2 separate regions of the Homo sapiens genome follow, and region 2 is linked to region 1. Evidence: promoter capture Hi-C in 16 types of primary human blood cells and fetal thymus (Javierre and others, 2016). All regions are on one chromosome and are shown on one strand. The core of a region is centred on a gene start or on the middle of the fragment in contact, and the rest is flanking DNA. Distances in the headings are between cores, read along the strand shown. Region 1 holds the start of CMTM5 (CKLF like MARVEL transmembrane domain containing 5). Region 2 overlaps SLC7A8 (solute carrier family 7 member 8).

What was found. The method cuts DNA at HindIII sites, captures the fragments that hold promoters and counts their contacts. A CHiCAGO score of 5 or more calls a contact.
Region 2: a fragment that was not itself captured here is called in contact with the fragment with the promoter of CMTM5 in region 1 in 3 of 17 cell types (total CD8 T cells, activated CD4 T cells and naive CD8 T cells); the score reaches 5.6 in total CD8 T cells.

What each region holds. Positions count from the first base shown.
Region 1 is chr14:23,374,889-23,380,069 of GRCh38, forward strand. It overlaps CMTM5 (CKLF like MARVEL transmembrane domain containing 5), which reads left to right and starts at 2,158. Exons shown (of 6, transcript NM_001288746.2): 1 at 2,158-2,489; 2 at 3,461-3,613; 3 at 3,781-3,981; 4 at 4,143-4,235; 5 at 4,411-4,495; 6 at 4,586-4,884. The coding sequence starts at 2,364. The coding sequence ends at 4,599. It overlaps IL25 (interleukin 25), which reads left to right. Exons shown (of 3, transcript NM_172314.2): 3 at 737-1,515. The coding sequence ends at 992. RefSeq lists an enhancer at 5,107-5,176. The HindIII fragment of the contact is 2,824 bases long and covers 1-2,746 here.
Region 2 is chr14:23,129,523-23,134,703 of GRCh38, forward strand. It overlaps SLC7A8 (solute carrier family 7 member 8), which reads right to left. Exons shown (of 11, transcript NM_012244.4): 8 at 1,939-2,035; 9 at 128-277. Among named protein-coding and RNA genes, the nearest start is that of CEBPE, 13 kb to the left of the region's middle. The HindIII fragment of the contact is 927 bases long and covers 1,533-2,459 here.

The DNA of each region.
Region 1 (5,181 bases), core at 908-3,407:
GACTATTAACTTTCACTCTTTATACTCTTTAATACTTGGATGTCAGAGTGGTTTTTACTTTTGCAATAATGCTATAATAATAATAGAAACACCACCTAAAGTCCGGCCCGGTGGCTCATGCCTGTAATCCCAGCACTTTGGGAGGTCGAGGTGGGTGGATTACCTAAGGTCAGGAGTTCAAGACCAGCCTGGCCAACCATGGCCAACATCATGAAACCCCATCTCTACTAAAAATATGAAAATTAGCTGGGTATGGTGGCGGGCATCAGGAGAATCGCTCGAACCCAGGAGGTAGAGGTTGCAGTTGAGCCAAGATCGTGCCACTGCACTCCAGCTTGGGTACTCCGTCTCAAAAAAACAAAAACAAAAAATCAAAAAACAAACAAAAACACCTAAAGTGTAATCATTACAATAAGAAACCTCATGCTGAGTCAGATAGAAGCAGTGCTGGTCAATGGAGGCTAAGGCAGGAGCCTGCTCACCCTCCCCTGCCTCCCTCACGGTCCCAGGACCAGTTGGAAAGCACTCTGTCACCTGCTACCCTCATTTACAGTGGGGAAAATTTAATAAAGGAGGGAGGTGACTTGTTCAAAGTTACACAGCAAGTGGGTTCAGAACTGAGACAAGAGGCCAAGGCCCCAGACGGACCATTTCCTTCTTCTGGCACTCCCATGCCACCCCACCCTCTCTGTTTCCGGCCCATCTTTCCAAGGCCTGACAAGTGCCGCCCCCACAGGTTGGACAGAGACTTGAACCGGCTCCCCCAGGACCTGTACCACGCCCGTTGCCTGTGCCCGCACTGCGTCAGCCTACAGACAGGCTCCCACATGGACCCCCGGGGCAACTCGGAGCTGCTCTACCACAACCAGACTGTCTTCTACCGGCGGCCATGCCATGGCGAGAAGGGCACCCACAAGGGCTACTGCCTGGAGCGCAGGCTGTACCGTGTTTCCTTAGCTTGTGTGTGTGTGCGGCCCCGTGTGATGGGCTAGCCGGACCTGCTGGAGGCTGGTCCCTTTTTGGGAAACCTGGAGCCAGGTGTACAACCACTTGCCATGAAGGGCCAGGATGCCCAGATGCTTGGCCCCTGTGAAGTGCTGTCTGGAGCAGCAGGATCCCGGGACAGGATGGGGGGCTTTGGGGAAAGCCTGCACTTCTGCACATTTTGAAAAGAGCAGCTGCTGCTTAGGGCCGCCGGAAGCTGGTGTCCTGTCATTTTCTCTCAGGAAAGGTTTTCAAAGTTCTGCCCATTTCTGGAGGCCACCACTCCTGTCTCTTCCTCTTTTCCCATCCCCTGCTACCCTGGCCCAGCACAGGCACTTTCTAGATATTTCCCCCTTGCTGGAGAAGAAAGAGCCCCTGGTTTTATTTGTTTGTTTACTCATCACTCAGTGAGCATCTACTTTGGGTGCATTCTAGTGTAGTTACTAGTCTTTTGACATGGATGATTCTGAGGAGGAAGCTGTTATTGAATGTATAGAGATTTATCCAAATAAATATCTTTATTTAAAAATGGCCTAATCTGTATTTGGCATCCGTGGTGCCTGAACATCTCGCGGTCTCCCAGCCTGTCCCTTCTCCTTTCCACCATTGGCCCTCACCTCTGTCCACCCTGCCAGCTCTCTCCGCCCTCCAGAGTTTCCGCTGCACCCTCCCGTCCTCTCCCATCTCTGTCTCCCTGGCCCATCCCAAACACCAGGGTGGGGGCTAGGCCGCGCTCCCGGCATGCTGGAGAGACAGAGGCCCATTGAGGCATTGCAGCAGGCACAGAGCGCCCCCTTGTCCCCCAACAATCCGCCTTTGTCCTCCAGTCCTGGCTGCTGCAGCTTGGTCCTGGGGGTGCTGCCTGGGCTGGGCTCCAGCTCACACCCTCCCTAAAAGGAAATGGGAGAAAGGACCGGCCAAACAAGAGGGTTAAGGTTAGAGAAGGGGGACACAAATGTCTTCAGGCTTAGGTCCCTGGGGGCTCCCAGTCCTGCCCCTGTTCCTCTACTCACATCCCAGCTCCTCCCAGTTTCTTTTCGGACCTCCTCCTCTCCCCTTCCTTCTCTATTCCAGGCTGGGTTGGGCTCTAAGCAAGGGGAGGGATTAGAGCCTCCTTCCTCTCTGCCCCTCCCCATGGGTCTCTAGGGGGCTGGTGCAGGCAGCAGCAGAGGCACTCTGGGCAGCTGGGTGAGGGCCCATCTGGGCAAGGCCCCCAGCGCCTGCCTTCTCTCCCGGGGCCCTGTGGGCAAGCCTCCTGCTTCACTTTCAGGTTTCTCGAAGTGCCTTCTTGCTCCTGTCTGTTTCCCCATCCTGCCAGATTTCTGTTTCTCTTGCTGGGCTTTTGGCAGTAGGGGGCTGTGTTGGTGGGCCCTACGAAGATGCTCAGTGCTCGAGATCGCCGGGACCGGCACCCTGAGGAGGGGGTAGTTGCAGAGCTCCAGGGCTTCGCGGTGGACAAGGCCTTCCTCACCTCCCACAAGGGCATCCTGCTGGAAACCGAGCTGGTAACAGCTGCCTCCCAACCTGGTGCCTCCATCTCCCTGACCCCCGGCTCCTGGCCAGCCTTATGCCAGCCCCCAGCTCACCCTTCAGTAGCCTCCTTCCCCAAGCCCTCTGGACACCTCTCCTGCCCGCAGCTGCCCCTTCTTCGTCTCCTACTCTGCCTTCTTGCTGCCTCTCCACCCGGAGACATTTACAGCAGGTTTCAGTTGCAGCAGGAAGGACTGCAGTTAGACAGGGTGACTTTTTGGGACATTGAGGAAGCTTGAGACATAGGGATGGGACAGGGGCAATGACAGCCTCTAACATGGCCACTTCTCAGCACGTCCAAGAAGTCTAACTATCAAAAAGGGCAGACTTCCTGCAACTGCACTTTATCTGTGGTCTGCTGCCCAGAAACATCTCTTCTCAGGAAAGGATCTTCCCCTGGTTACTTAGCAAGACCACAGTGTAGAGTTAAGGCCTCTGCACGTATGCCACCCTAGGTCATCAGAGCTAAAGGGGCTCCCAGAAACCACTGGGCAGCATCTGCCTTCTCTCTTGGCATGGAATCAAAGGCTCTGGTCCTTGTCAGGGGGCTTTCAGGCATCTGGGGGTGGGGAAAGCATTATGAGGCAGGGGGCTCCTCTTGGTCCCTGTGGAGTCGGGTCTCTGTGGGCACAACTCCAGGGGCTGGCATTCACACTGTACCTATGAATTACTGTGGGATAGTGCTCCTGGGAGCCATATGGCTTGGCCAGACTGCTGGGGTTGCTGGGTGAGCAGAGTGGGAGGCCGGAGACTGCCCTTGACCGGCAAATGCCCTGCAACGGTGGCTCCTGACACCAGGGGATAGGGAGATGTGCCAGAGTCCTTCCTCCCCTCCAAGGACAGGTAGTAGGTGCCAGCCTAGGGGAGCTTCCAAGGAGGGGAAGGCAAAGCCCTGGCCCCTGCCTGTGTCCCCTTCTTGGCATGTTCCACATGCTCGGTCCTGCAGGCCCTGACCCTCATCATCTTCATCTGCTTCACGGCCTCCATCTCTGCCTACATGGCCGCGGCGCTACTGGAGTTCTTCATCACACTTGCCTTCCTCTTCCTCTATGCCACCCAGTACTACCAGCGCTTCGACCGAATTAACTGGCCCTGTCTGGTGAGGAACCCTGACCCCTAGCCCAGTTTGGGGCCCTTCCCTCTCCTCTAAATGATGCATTTTCCTTTCCTCCCCGAGCTTCTTTCCATTTCCACACCACAGCTGGGCTTTGTCCCATGCTATGCCCTGCACTCAAAGGTGTGCTTTGACTCACACTGATTTCACAGCTGCAGGGCCACGGGCAATCAGGAGGACCACATCCGCTAGATCTACTCTCCCACTCAGCAAAGGTCCAGCCCCAGCCCTGGCCTGGCTTGACCCCCCCGGGCTGGCATACTCCAGCCGCTGTCCCCTGGGTTCCAGCCCCAGCGCCTGGCTTCTGGTCCTGGTTGCTCTGGTTCATCTGCTTCCACTCCCTGGGTAGCAGTGTGAGCGCTCTGTCTCTTGAATGTGCTTCATATTGTGTGAGGGGTATCCTATGGAGGGGTTCAGAATCCCTCAGGGTCGGGCTGCTGGCTAGCCTGGAAAACTTCAGGGTAACGCCCCCTGCCTTCTGAGGTCCTGTTAACCCTGCACCCCTGGCCCCCAGGACTTCCTGCGCTGTGTCAGTGCCATCATCATCTTCCTGGTGGTCTCCTTTGCAGCTGTGACCTCCCGGGACGGAGCTGCCATTGCTGCTTTTGTGAGTTCAGCCCTGCAGGACTCCTTAGCCCCTCAAGAGCTCAGGCTGGTGCTTGCACACTTTCTGTATCAGAAGCCACAGCCAGGACTTGGGGTTCTGGCTTGCACCTCACCCTATACCTTAACCCAATGGCCCTATAGCCTCTGTTTTGCCATCCCCACTCCCACTCCCACAGGTTTTTGGCATCATCCTGGTTTCCATCTTTGCCTATGATGCCTTCAAGATCTACCGGACTGAGATGGCACCCGGGGCCAGCCAGGGTGAGTGCCTGTGCTCTGTGGAGAGGAGATGCCCTCCCCACCCTAGCTACCCATCCTGATGTGGGTCCCTACCTGGCTCTATCCTCACAGGGGACCAGCAGTGACTCTGGGGCTACCTGGCTCCTAGGCCCAGCCAGCCAGAGAGGACAGTGGAGCCCAGACACGTCTCCTTGGGATTCACTAGCCCCCAGCCCGCCAAACCCCACCCCAGCCCTACACAGCAGTCTGGCCTGAGACGTCACTGGGGACTTATCTGTGGAGCCTGGTGCTCCAGGATGTGGCTTCTCATGAAGCTCTGGCCAGAGGAGGGGAACTTATTGGGGGAGGGGGGGTGGAGGGGAGGAATCTGGACCTCTAAGTCATTCCCAAATTAAAATATTCAAATTCTACTGGTGAGTCTCTTTCTTCCCCAGAAATTAGGCAGGTCAGGAATGTCAAGGAGTATTCATGGGAATGTTGCCAGAGCAGGTCGTGGTCTGTCTCTGGGACTGGGTCTGAGCAGTGAGGATGTGGGGGCTAGCCAGAAGAAGCTGAAGACATCCTCCAACACAAAACTTCTACGCTACACCTCTGTGTGCACGGCCACTTTGTGGTGTGCCTGGTGGCTGGGCATCTGGAGTTCTGTGTCTGAGAAGGCACAGCCTTCCTCATGGGAGCATGCATGCACCACCACACCTGTTCCCGCA
Region 2 (5,181 bases), core at 746-3,245, 250 kb before region 1:
AAGGGTCTGCTACCATCAGAGATGATGACGTGTGGTCAGCAGCTAAGAACAGAGGTGATTTAAAAATCTGAACTGCAGCTAGAACCATAGAGGAAGGGGAGGGGACCCCAAAGGGAGTTTCTCTCACCTTGATGGGGCGGGGGATATCAGGCTTCTTCCAGCGAAGGACTATCTGTCCAGCAACCGTGACCCCATAGAAGAGGTAGTTGATGAAGCCCACATAGTTGATGAGTGTGTACATGTCGCTGGTGACCAGCATCAGCAGGGTGGAGATGCACTGGGAAAGTGGGAGGAGCTCATCAGTGATCCGAAAGATATTCAGAGACTGGTATTACAGATTAGGGGCTGTCCCCCAGCCTCCAGGCAGATGATGCCATCGTATAATGGATGTCTCGAAATGGAGACTTTAGAACCTCCCCTAGTAACCCAATATGTTACAACATCTTTATTGCTAGGAAATCCTTTCTTATTACAGGGGTGATGATCAAAATATTTAACCACTCGTATGGCACGGGCACTAGCCAATTAGAATGGATACTGGACATAAGCAGCTAGACTGGCCACACTGGTATTACCTGGCTCTGTGTCAGCCCCGGTCTCATTTGTATGCCTCTGTTGGTTATAGCTCAAGCTAAATTCATTTTTTTAAAATCCCTTAGGGAAGATTGTTAACAACAGATTAAGGCTGTATTCCTGCCCTCATCCTTTTCTCCTGGCTGAGTCATCTATTTTTCTTCCTTCCTTTTCTTTATTAATTTCAAAACTGGTTACATAGCACTTACTGTGTGCCAGGTCTCTATGTTTAGCATTTGACAAAGATTAACTCACTTAACCCTCATAACATCCCTATGAGGTTTTCTTGACAGAGTCTACTTTCCAACTTCAAAATCATCTCTGTGGCTCTCTTGGAACCATGCTCCTCCCCTCTGATAACTTGTGAAGGTCAACAAAAGGTTCTGTTCTCTTGTGAGATCCGATGGTTAAAATAATCGAGAAGATTTTAATGGTTCTTGCTACATCTGCCTTTTAGTCACACTACTGCACCAATAGCTCTAACTGGAAAAAACAAAACAAAACAAAACAAAAAAATGTGTGTGGCCCACTGGGAGTACTGTCTTCTCCAGCCACCTTCGACAACCAACCAGTCAAGGTGACCTTCATCCTGCATCTGAACATTCTGAAATTGTACAGCAATGCTGTAAAATGCTCTTGGCTCCCAAGAGCTCTGTTATTCTGATTGCTAACTGCTTCACCAGTGGACCAAAGTCATTTTTAGTGTTTTATTCAGGATCCAGAAGGAAAATAAAAATAACTCAAAAGACTCAATGGGGACAAGTCTTTGTTCCTTCCTATAGCTCTCTCAAAATGATTCTACTCTGGGGATATTTTACTCCCATCTCTTTCCTGTCCCAAGTTTCCTTTGCACAGTTTCCAGTTTATCAGTCTTCCTCTATTATTTTTCGTATTTGGTGTACTGTTAACACTAACTTCATTTCAATGATGTTTCCCAAGAGACTGGCAGGCTGCCCTGAAGCTTGATGGGGGAAGTGGGTGTTTGCAGGGACCAACCAGCCAGGAGCAGAGGCCAGTGCTGCAACCCTGTGGTAACAGGTGCGAGGAGAGCCAAGGGAGATATATTTTTTTTGAGGCTGTAGAATCCTGAGACAGTCAGTTCAGTCTGACCCAAAAGGATGGGAGAACGGAAATAAGTCAGCCTGAGAGCCTTAGGTATTTCAAGACTCAGGATCTTTCCTTGCTATATCTCTTGATATTAACAAAGATGATGGGTATCATTTGCCAGATCCTCTAAGATCCAGTGAGACCTAGCAGCAGACTGCAAGGGTAACAGGGGTGTGTGTGAAAAGCATGAACTCCCAGCTTAGACTAGGCACAAAGAGAGGGAGGTGTGTGGAGAGTTACAGCAGGAAGGGCCCTTACTGTGAAGAGCAGGGCTGGGATTGGGGTGCAGCGCTTCACGTGGATCATGGCCAACACACTGGGAAGGTGGCCCTCTCGGGCTCCAGCGAAGAACAGCCTGTCAGGGAGAAAAGCAGGTCAGCCTGGGATAACCCAGGGACCACCAAGCCCCAGCTCCTTCATCCTTGCCTACCTTCTGCCCACACAGGGGCATCCCCACTCCAACCAGGCACCCGCCTTCACATGCATACTTTCCACCCCACCAGTCACAGAACCTGTGTTCACAAATGCAGGTGCAAGCAAACCAGAGGCAGCCAGTGGAAAAGTGGATGAACCCTGGGTATGTTAGACCCTGAATGTGGTATGGGTGGCTCAGGGTTACTGATAATTGTACTGTCACTCAGTGGGGTGTTCCCAATGCCTGGAAGGCTGCAGGAGCAGCCTCTGTCTGTTGCCTAAAATCTTCATCTCTTTAAAAGCATTCCTCACATCCTCAAAGGATGCAGATTCCCTAATACACTGGGACTGAACTGCATATGGAAAGCTTTAAAAACACTCTATTTTTTTTTTTTTTTTTTTTTTTGAGATGGAGTCTGACTCTGTCGCCCAGGCTGGAGTGCAGTGCTGCAATCTCGGCTCACTGCAACCTCCGCCTCCCAGGTTTAAGCAATTCTCTGCCTCAGCCTCCCGAGAAGGTGGGATTACAGGTGTGTGCCACCATGCCCAGCTAATTTTTGTATTTTCAGTAGAGACGGGGTTTCACCATCTTGGCCAGGCTGGTCTTGAACTGCTGACCTCGTGATCCACTTGCCTCGGCCTCCCAAAGTGCTGGGACTACAGGCGTGAGCCACCGCGCCTGGCCTAAAAACACTCTTGTCCTAGTCAGAGAGTAGTTAGTTGTCTTTGTGGGAGTAGGGAATTGGTGGTGGAAATGTTCTCTATCTTGTTTTGGGTAGTGGTTGAATTTTGACAACTGTCAAAATTCATCAAATGGAAGCCAGGCACAGTGGCACACACCTATATTTCTAGCTACTTGGGAGGCTGAAGCAGGAAGATTGCTTGAGCCCAGAAGTTCAAAGCCAGCCTAGGCAACATAGTGAGACTCTGCCTCTAAAAAACAACAATAAAAAACAAAAATGAACAAACACAAACAAAAAAACCCCCACAAAACTCATCAAAATGAACATTTATGATCTGCTTTTTTTTTTTTTTTGAGACGGAGTTTCACTCTTGTTGCCCAGGCTGGAGTGCAATAGCACGATCTTGGTTCACCGCAACCTCCGCCTCCCAGGTTCAAGCGATTCTTCTGCCTCAGCCTCCCGAGTAGCTGGGATTACAGGCATGCGCCACCACACCCAGCTAATTTTTGTATTTTTGGTGGAGACGGGGTTTCTCCATGTTGGTCAGGCTGGTCTCGAACTCCCGACCTCAGGTGATCTGCCCGCCTCGGCCTCCCAAAGTACTGGGATTACAGGCATGAGCCACTATGCCCAGCCTATGATCTGCTTTTTAAAAAAAAAATTGAGGCAGGGTCTTGCCATGTTGCCCAGGCTGGTCTCGAACTGGGCTCTAATGATCCTCCCACCTCGGGCTCCCAAAGCGTTGGGATGACAGGCATGAGCCACCACGCCCAGCCTGCATATTTTATTGTATGTAAATTGTACTTAAAAATTTATATCCTGTCTTGTGGGATTGAGTTTAAAAAAATTATATCCTGTCTGGGCACGGTGGGTAACACCTGCAATCCCAGCACTTTGGCAGGCTGAGGCGGGAGAATCATTTGAGCCCGGAAGTTTGAGGCCAGTCTGGGCAAAATAGTGGACCCTTGTCTCTACAAAAAATAAAAATAAAATTAGCCAGGTGTGGTGGCATGTGCCTGTTGTTCTAATTACTCGGGAGGCTGAGGTGACAGGATCACATGAGCCTGGGAGGCTGAGGCTGCAGTGAGCTGTGATTGTGCCATTGCACTCCACCCTAGGCAACAGAGCAAGAACCTGTCTCAAAAAAAAAAAAAAAAAAAAAGAGAAAGAAAAAATTGGAAATATCGTAAGTGCCTAAAAGTAAGAGGTCGATAAAATGAATTTGGCATAAGATGAAATGTTATGGGCTAGGCACAGTGGCTCATGCCTGTAATCCCAGCTCTTTGGGAGGCTGAGGTGGGTGAATCACCTGAGGTCAGGAGTTTGAGACCAGCCTGGCCAACATGGGGAAACCTCGTCTCTACTAAAAATACAAAAATTAGCCAGATGTGGTGGCACGTGCCTATAATCCCAGCTACTTGGAAGGTTGAGGCAGAATTGCCTGAACCCGGAAGGTGGAGGTTGCAGTGAGCAGAGATCATGCCCTTGCACTCCAACCTGGATGACAGAGTGAAACTCTGTCTCAAAGAAAAAAAAAAGGGAACATTATGTAGTCATAATGTTTTTGAAAAAATTTGATTACATGAGAATATGCTCAAAATATAACATCAAATGAAAAAACAGGACTGAAAACTATAATGCAAATAATTTTTTTTTTTTGAGACATGGTCTTGCTCTGTTGCCCAGGCTGGAGTGCAGTAGCACGATGATGGCTCACTGTAGCCTTGACCTCCCAAACTCAAATGATCCTCCTGTCTCAGTCTTCCAAGTAGCTGGGACTACAGGTGTGCACCACCACACCCAAATGCCAATTAATTTTAAGATTATTTATGGGCCTATTTATTAAAATGCTAACTGATTGTCTCTGGGTGGTGAAATTATGGTTAATTTTAATTTTCTTCCTTATACATTAGAGAAAAAATTTTAAAAATCGCAAAATGCAGCCTGGGCAACATGGTGAAACCCTGTCTCTACAAAAAATACAAAAATTAGCCAGGCGTGGTAGAGCGTGCCTGTAGTTCCAGCTACTGAGGGGGCTGAGGTGGGAGGATCACTTGAGCCTGGGAGGTTGAGGCTGCAGTGAGCTGTATTTGCACCACTGCACTCCAGCCTGGGTGACAAAGTGAGACCCTGTCTCCAAAAAAAAAAAAAAAAAAAAAAAGAAAAGATAAGGAAAAGGAAAAAATGAATAAAATTCTAAAATAGATGGAATATTTATAATCAGAATAAAGATTTTTTAACTTAAAAAATTAAACTTTTTATTTTTCCAATTTTTAGAGATGGGGTCTTGCTCTGTCACCCAGGCTGGAGTAGAGTGGCGTGATTATAGCTCACTGCAGCCTCCAATTCCTGGGCTCCAGTGATCCTCTAGTCTCAGCCTCCTGAGCAGCTGGGACTACATGTA